Linked DNA regions of Homo sapiens: region 2 is linked to region 1. Evidence: promoter capture Hi-C in human tissues and cell types (Jung and others, 2019). All regions are on one chromosome and are shown on one strand. The core of a region is centred on a gene start or on the middle of the fragment in contact, and the rest is flanking DNA. Distances in the headings are between cores, read along the strand shown.

Region 1 (3,411 bases), core at 493-2,992:
CATTTTGTTTAAAAAATTTAAAATGCAACTACTATATGCCAGGTCCTGTGTGGGCACTTTACATATGTTGATTTACTTTAATCCCTACAGCAATCCTATTACTATTTTAAAGCTGAGAGAGGGGAAGTGACTTGCCTTGGGATACATAGCTCAAAGGTGGTAGAGCCAAGATTCCAAAGTGCCTGATTCCTATTGTGTCTGACTCTAAAACACTATGTTCTTTCTGCTATGTTCATCCAGGTGGTGGAAAAATTCAGTCTAGGAGTAAAAAAAGGAAGATCAACATCCTGCAGAATGACTCATGCTATTCATTATAGAAGCAATTGCTGGAGATGCTATCATTGTGGATCACGGAAGTCTTCATGGAAGAGGTGGCATTTGAGCTGGGCCTTCACTGCAAAAAAAAAAAAAAAAAATTTCCTGATTCTCTGTCAGGCACTGGGGATCCAGAGATGAATCAGACAAAGTCCTTTTGCTTGAAGAATTCACAGTATTTTGTGTGTGTGTGGGAAGGAGGGTGGCTGCTTACATGTGTTAAAAGACAATGTGGCCAGGCCTGGTGGCTCATGCCTGTAATCCCAACACTTTGGGAGCCCGAGACTGGAGGATCGCTTGAGCCTGGGAGTTTGAGACTAGTCTGGGAAATATGGCCAGAACCCCATCTTTACAAAAAAATTTTAAAATTAGCTGGGCCTGGTGGCATGTGCCTGTATTCCCAGCTACTTAGGAGGGTGAGGTGGGAGGATCACTTGAGCCCAGGAGGTCGAGGCTGCAATGAGCCGTGATTTTGCCACTGCACTCCAGCCCGGGCGAAAGAATGAGGCACTGTTAAAAAAAATTAATAGAATAATCCAGACCCACGGTAGGGTCAAAATTCCTAACTCAAGGTCCCAGAGAGGCTCAGAGAAGCCTTTTGGAAGAAGGGACTCCTGCCCCAGCTAAGACTGATGGATAAGTAGCAAAGGCTTTCTGGGGACACAGCACAAACAGCCCACCTGAAGCGGTGAATCGGCGTCCTGGGTGCCTGGCACACCTTGTAGCTCAGCTTACTAGCTAGTGGAGTGCGAAGGGGCGTGTACTTGTCGGTTGGAGCTGGTCATGAAAGAGCTCGTGGGACTGCCCGACGGTTCTCAGGTCCCAGTGCATCCTGCGTGGTGGCTCTCTGCTGAACCATAAAGCATTCCTTTTCAATCCCTGCACGCTCACGCCGGGAAAAGACTGCACAAGGGGCCTGCCAAGGCAGACAAGCGATCGCCACCCAGCTGGCTTCCGAGGGTCCCCGCCCTCCACCGGAGGCCTGTTACCACGGCAACCAGTGAGGGCGGAAGTGGCTCAGAAGACCGGTTCTCCCTAATCAGGTGACTCTCCCGCCTCCTGCACGTGACACCGGAGCCCAGAAGCGCGCTCTACCTAATCAAGACCCCACCCCTCTTTCCCTTTACTGACAATTGACAGCGACCTCTTGCAATGGCCCTTCCGCCTCCACCAGGAGACTCTGCCCGTTGGTAGTAAAAGAACCAATTAGACTGGGAAAAAAAGAAGCAACGCCCCAGGTTTCACCCCGGCTTGACAGACGCAATTGAGGCCATCCTTGAGTCCCTCCGCCCCCAAGTCCAGTAATGCCAGCGATGGACAGACCTTCTACCCAATAGCACGCCCCTTTTCTGCCGTTGGGTCCCGCCCCCTTGAGGGCTAAGCCAATGAGCGCTCCGGGTCTCAGCGGGGTGGAGGGGTTGCACTGCGGTAATATGGCTCTTCCTTAGCCAGCGGCGGCAACGGCGGCAGCGGCGGCAGCGGCGGCGGCTACTGTCTGGGCTGAGCAGTAGTGCCTCTCGGGTGGCGGGTTTCTAGGCTGCAGGGGCTTGGTAGGTGGTGGCAAGGGGGCGGCGGCGGATGCCGGAAGAGTGCCCGCCCCGCCGCTTGGCGGCCCCTGGATCGAGATGAGCGCCTCCGCGTCGGTCGGGGGCCCCGTCCCCCAGCCACCCCCGGGCCCGGCCGCTGCTCTGCCTCCCGGTTCTGCCGCGCGGGCCCTGCATGTGGAGCTGCCGTCTCAGCAGGTAAGCCCGCGCGGCTCGCAGCACTCGGGAGGGACCCGGGCAGGCCCGCGTGGAGAGCTTGCTGGCTCCGGGCTGACCCCGCGAGCCGGGACACCCAGAGCAGGGACCCGGAGGGCTCGCGGGACTGAGGAAGACTGTCAGGAGGTTTGTGCGGGGAGGGGTCCAGTGATGGCCGAACCTCCGGGAGATCCCGGAGTCCTAGGAGAATCCCGTTACAGGAGATGGGCTTGTTAAGGGACAAGCAGCCAGCCAGCTCAAGTCCCTGGGGCCCCGGCCCGAGGCCGCCTCCCCCAACGCAGGGAGCCGGGGATTGCCCCGCGCAGACCCTCTCCCTCGTTCCGCCCAGGAAGGGACCCGGGGAACCCCCTGTGTCCCACGGGCCATAGTGAAAGCACTTTTCCTTTCTTTCCCCACCTGGCCATCCCCGCTTACGGAGAAACCAGTTTGTACTCTTCGTGCAAGAGCCCTGGAGGAGACTTTAGGGTGTCTACCATTTGCTTTAATCTCCCCTGATTATTAAGTATTCGGCCTCTTTAGAGAAATGTATTCAAGACTTGGGGGTTTCCTTCCTAATTCTCCGAGTCCCAAGGAACGCATCTTAATAATTAGGAGGACTTTTTCCTTCTTCATTCCCTTCAGTGAGTCTCTGTGGAAGGAGGATTTGATGTATATATTCATGTGTTCCTCCATCCTTTAGGAAGGGCTTTGAGGACTTCTTGGCTCTGCGTTGTAGGAAGATAAGAAGGGGGAAACACTGACTTTGGAGATGTGACAAAACTCTTTGTTTCACTCACATATCTGTAGAGTACTTCCCTCCTTATATCGGTTGCCTTCCTTCTGTCCCCCAAGGGGAGATTTTGCAGGAATCTTAGCATTAAAGAGACCTAAAGAATACCTTTCACCCTCTCCCTTTATTCCTCCTGCCAAGAAGAGGATCTAGAGAAACTGTCATTTACTGAGAACTTACCGTGTTGGATTTGTGCAAAGGGCTCAGTGGCCATTAGTTCACTGAATTTTCACAACTCTGTGAGATAGCTGTTTTTATTACCCCCATTTGGCAGTTGAGGAAACTGAGGCTTGTCCAGAGCCTTCCAGTTAGTAAGTGGTGGGGCTGGGTTGCAGAATCCAGTGTCTGACTCTGCAGCCATGCACGTGCTTGAGACTTGGGCAGCCTTCCTCCACCACCTTTACACAGGACAGAGTGAGTTCTTTCATACACCCCTCCAACTTTCCATCAGCTACCAGTGGGACTTAGGAAGGATTCAGAAAGAGGAAGGGAGAGGTTGTAGGGGAGAGAGTGGTTGAAAAGTGAAATGGATTTGAGTGCAGTAAAGGAGGCGGGGGCTAAAGGGAA
Region 2 (3,543 bases), core at 697-3,196, 520 kb after region 1:
GCTCATATTTTTTGTTTTTTTTGGAGACAGGGTCTCACTCTGTTGCTCAGGCTGGAGTGCAGTGGCATGATCACAGTTCATTGCAGCTTCAACCTTCCAGGCTCAGGTGATCCTCCCACCTCAGCCTCCTGAGTAGCCAGGACTACAGGCACGCACCACCACACCTGGCTAATTTTTTTTTTTTTTTTTTTTTGAGACAGAGTCTGTCGCCCAGGCTGGAGTGCAGTGTTGCGATCTCGGCTCACTGCAAGCTCCGCCTCCTGGGTTCACACCATTCTCCTGCCTCAGCCTCCCAAGTAGCTGGGACTACAGGCTCCCGCCACCATGCCCCGCTAATTTTTTGTATTTTTAGCAGAGACGGGGTTTCACCGTGTTAGCCAGGATGGTCTCGATCTCCTGGCCTTGTGATCCACCCACCTCAGCCTCCCAAAGTGCTGAGATTACAGGTGTGAGCCACCGCACCCAGCCATGCCTGGCTAATTTTTAAACTTTTTGTAGAGATAGGATCTCGCTATGTTGCCCAGGCTTATCTCGAACTTCTGGGCTCAAGTGATCCACCCACCGTGGCCTCCCAAAGTGCTGGGTTTACAGGCGTGAGCCGCCACACCTGGCCCATATTCTTTATCAAATTGAAAAAAACATTTTACAGAAAAGAGGAAACACACACATGATATATATATATACACACACATATAAATATATGTATATAATTTTTTTTTTGAGACAGGGTCTCACTTTGTCACCCAGGCTGGAGTGCAGTGGAACAATCATGACTAATTGAAGCTTTGACTTTCCAGATTCAAGCAATCCTCCTGCCTCAGCCTCCCTAGTAGCTGGGACTACAGGCATGTGCTACCACACCGGGTAGTTATTTTATTTTATTTTATTTTATTTTTGAGATGGAGTTTCGCTCTTGTCACTCAGGCTAGAGTGCAGTGACACAATCTCGGCTCACTGAAACCTCCACCTCCTGGGTTCAAGCGATTCTCCTGCCTCAGCCTCCTGAGTTGCTGGGATTACAGGTGCCCGCCACTACATCTGGCTAATTTTTGTATTTTTAGTAGGGACGGAGTTTTGCCATGTTGGCCAGGCTGGTCTTGAACTCCTGACCTCAAGTGATCCTCCTGCCTCCGCCTCCCAGAATGCTGGGATTACAGGCGTGAGCCACCACACCCCGCCTGGGTAGTAGTTTTAGTAGAGATAGCAGTCTCACCATGTTACCCAGCTGGTCTTGAACTCCTGGGCTCAAATTATCCTCCTGTCTCAGCCTCCTAAATTGCTGGGATTACAAGTGTGAGCCACCACACATGGCCCAACACTTTTATGTGTTTAAAAAGATGCTTAGTTAACTTCACTTATAATAAAAGAAAAATTAACTAAAATCGGTGAAATGTGCTTTTTGAGCTATGTCTCTCAGATTGGCTTAGACCAAATGGGCTATTTATGAGAGATCTACTTACATGTTTGCAGTAATGGGGAAAGATATTTGTTGCAGCATTGTTTAAAGCAGAGGTCAGCAACCTTTTTCTGTAAAGGATAGACAGTAACTATTTTAGGCTTGAGGACTATACAGTCTCTTGAACTCCTGGGCTCAAGTGATCTACCTGCCTCAGCCTCCCAAAGTGCTGGAATTACAGGCGTTGAGCCACCATACCCAGACTATATGGTCTCATTGTAGCTAATCCACAATGCTGCTGCAGCTCAAACGCAGTCATAAACAAACGTAAACGGATGGGTATGCCTGTGTTCCAATAAAATCTTATTTACAAATGTTGAAACTTAAATTTTGTATACTTTTCATGTGTCACAAAATATTATTTTTTCAAAATCATTTACAGGCTGCTTGTGGTGGCTCATGCCTATAATCCCAGCACTTTGGGATGCTGAGGCAGGAGGATCACTTGAGGCCAGCAGTTTGAGACCAGCCTGGCCAACATGGTGGAACCCCGTCTATACCAAAAATACAAAACTTAACTGGGTTTGGTGGCACATGCCTGTAGTCCCAGCTACTCGGGAGGCTGAGGCATGATAATCACTTGAACCTGGGAAGTGGAGGTTGCAGTGAGCTGAGATTGTGCCACCGTATTCCAGCCTGGGCAACAGAGCCAAATTGTCTCAAACAAATAAACAAACAAACAAAAAAACCCATTTATAAACATAAAAAATTCATAGCTTAAGGTACATAAAAAACAAGAGCTGAGCTGGATCTGGTCAGGAATCCATAGATTGCCAACCCTGGTTTAGATTAACAGAAGACTAGAAACTATCTCAATGCCCCTCACTGGAAGAATGGCTAAATGCACTATGATATATCCTTAGGACCCCTGGATAGTTCCTCCTCATTCCTCAGGTCCAGCCAAAGGAGGTGTCCCCATGACACCATTGCTGAACACTGCCTTGCACCTAAGCCCTTAAAATACCTGCAGTAGAGATGTGTTTATCAGCTGCCTCCACCTGCATTTTGAAAAGAAAACACACCCATACATCCTTGTGTAGCCTGGAACTTGGGAGGATACAGAAGGGAGACAAATGACCACCTTTGGAGAAGGAAACTGGAGACTGAAGGAGCCAAGGGTGGGAGGAAAACGCTTCAAAGTGCACCCTAGTGCACTGTTTGGAATATATTAATACCATAAGCCCATGGTAGCTTTTTCAAAAAACAGTCAATCAGCTGGGCACGGTGGCTCACACCTGTAATCCCAGCACTTTGGGAAGCCGAGGCGGGCAGATCACCTGAGGTCAGGAGTTCAAGACCAGCCTGGCCAACATGGCCAAATCCCGTCTCTACTAAAAATACAAAAATTAGCCAGGTGTGGCGGCACGCTACTCGGGAGGCTGAGGCAGGGGAATTGGCTGAACCTGGGAGGTAAAGGTTGCAGTGAGCCGAGATCGTGCTACTGCACTCCAGCCTAGGCAACAGGGTAAGGCTCTGTCTCAAACAAACAACCAGTCAATTCCCCACTCCCTCAAATAAAGACGTTCCATGACACAAAAGGATTTTTGGTGAAATAAGTTTGGTACATGCAGGGTTAAGTGATGTTCAAGTGTCTTTGCTGCATAGGTTTGGGGTGGGGTGGCCTTTAACATGCTGCTGGGTCTGGTGAACCCATCTGAGGCCTGGTGCTCTCTACGCTTGCTGCTGGGACCATTTTTCCAGTCCATCTGATGTGGTTTGGCTCTGTGTCCCCACCCAAATCTCATGCTGAATTGTAATCCCCAGTGCTGGAGGAGGGGCCTAGTGGGAGGTGATTGAATCACGGGGGTGGTGGTTGTGAACAAAATGCTGATAGTGATATGGACAATGAAGTCCAGGCTAAAGAGGTCTCAGATGGAGATGAGAAACTTATTGGGAACTGGTGTAAACGTCACTCTTGCTATGCTTTAGCAAAGAGACTGGCAGCATTATGCCCCTGTGCTCTAGGGATTTCTTGAACTTTGAACTTGAGAGAGATGATCTGGGGTATCTGGTGGAAGAAATTTCTAAGCAGCAAAGCATTCATGATGTGGCCTCACTGCTTCTAAAAGCCTACACTCACCTGCATA

Evidence for each region. Contacts are between HindIII fragments. The study calls those that stand out against the background at their distance.
Region 2: a contact is called between a fragment that was not itself captured here and the fragment with the promoter of UVRAG in region 1, in 1 of the 25 tissues and cell types used here (dorsolateral prefrontal cortex).

What each region holds. Positions count from the first base shown.
Region 1 is chr11:75,813,468-75,816,878 of GRCh38, forward strand. UVRAG (UV radiation resistance associated) reads left to right here and starts at 1,743. Exons shown (of 15, transcript NM_003369.4): 1 at 1,743-2,057. The coding sequence starts at 1,941. It overlaps UVRAG-DT (UVRAG divergent transcript), which reads right to left and starts at 1,330. Exons shown (of 2, transcript NR_144531.1): 1 at 996-1,330; 2 at 47-394. RefSeq lists enhancers at 1-1,053, 977-1,406, 1,277-1,571 and a silencer at 1,867-2,066. The HindIII fragment of the contact is 17,046 bases long and covers 1-3,411 here.
Region 2 is chr11:76,331,148-76,334,690 of GRCh38, forward strand. No RefSeq gene overlaps it. Among named protein-coding and RNA genes, the nearest start is that of THAP12, 48 kb to the right of the region's middle. The HindIII fragment of the contact is 9,513 bases long and covers 1-3,543 here.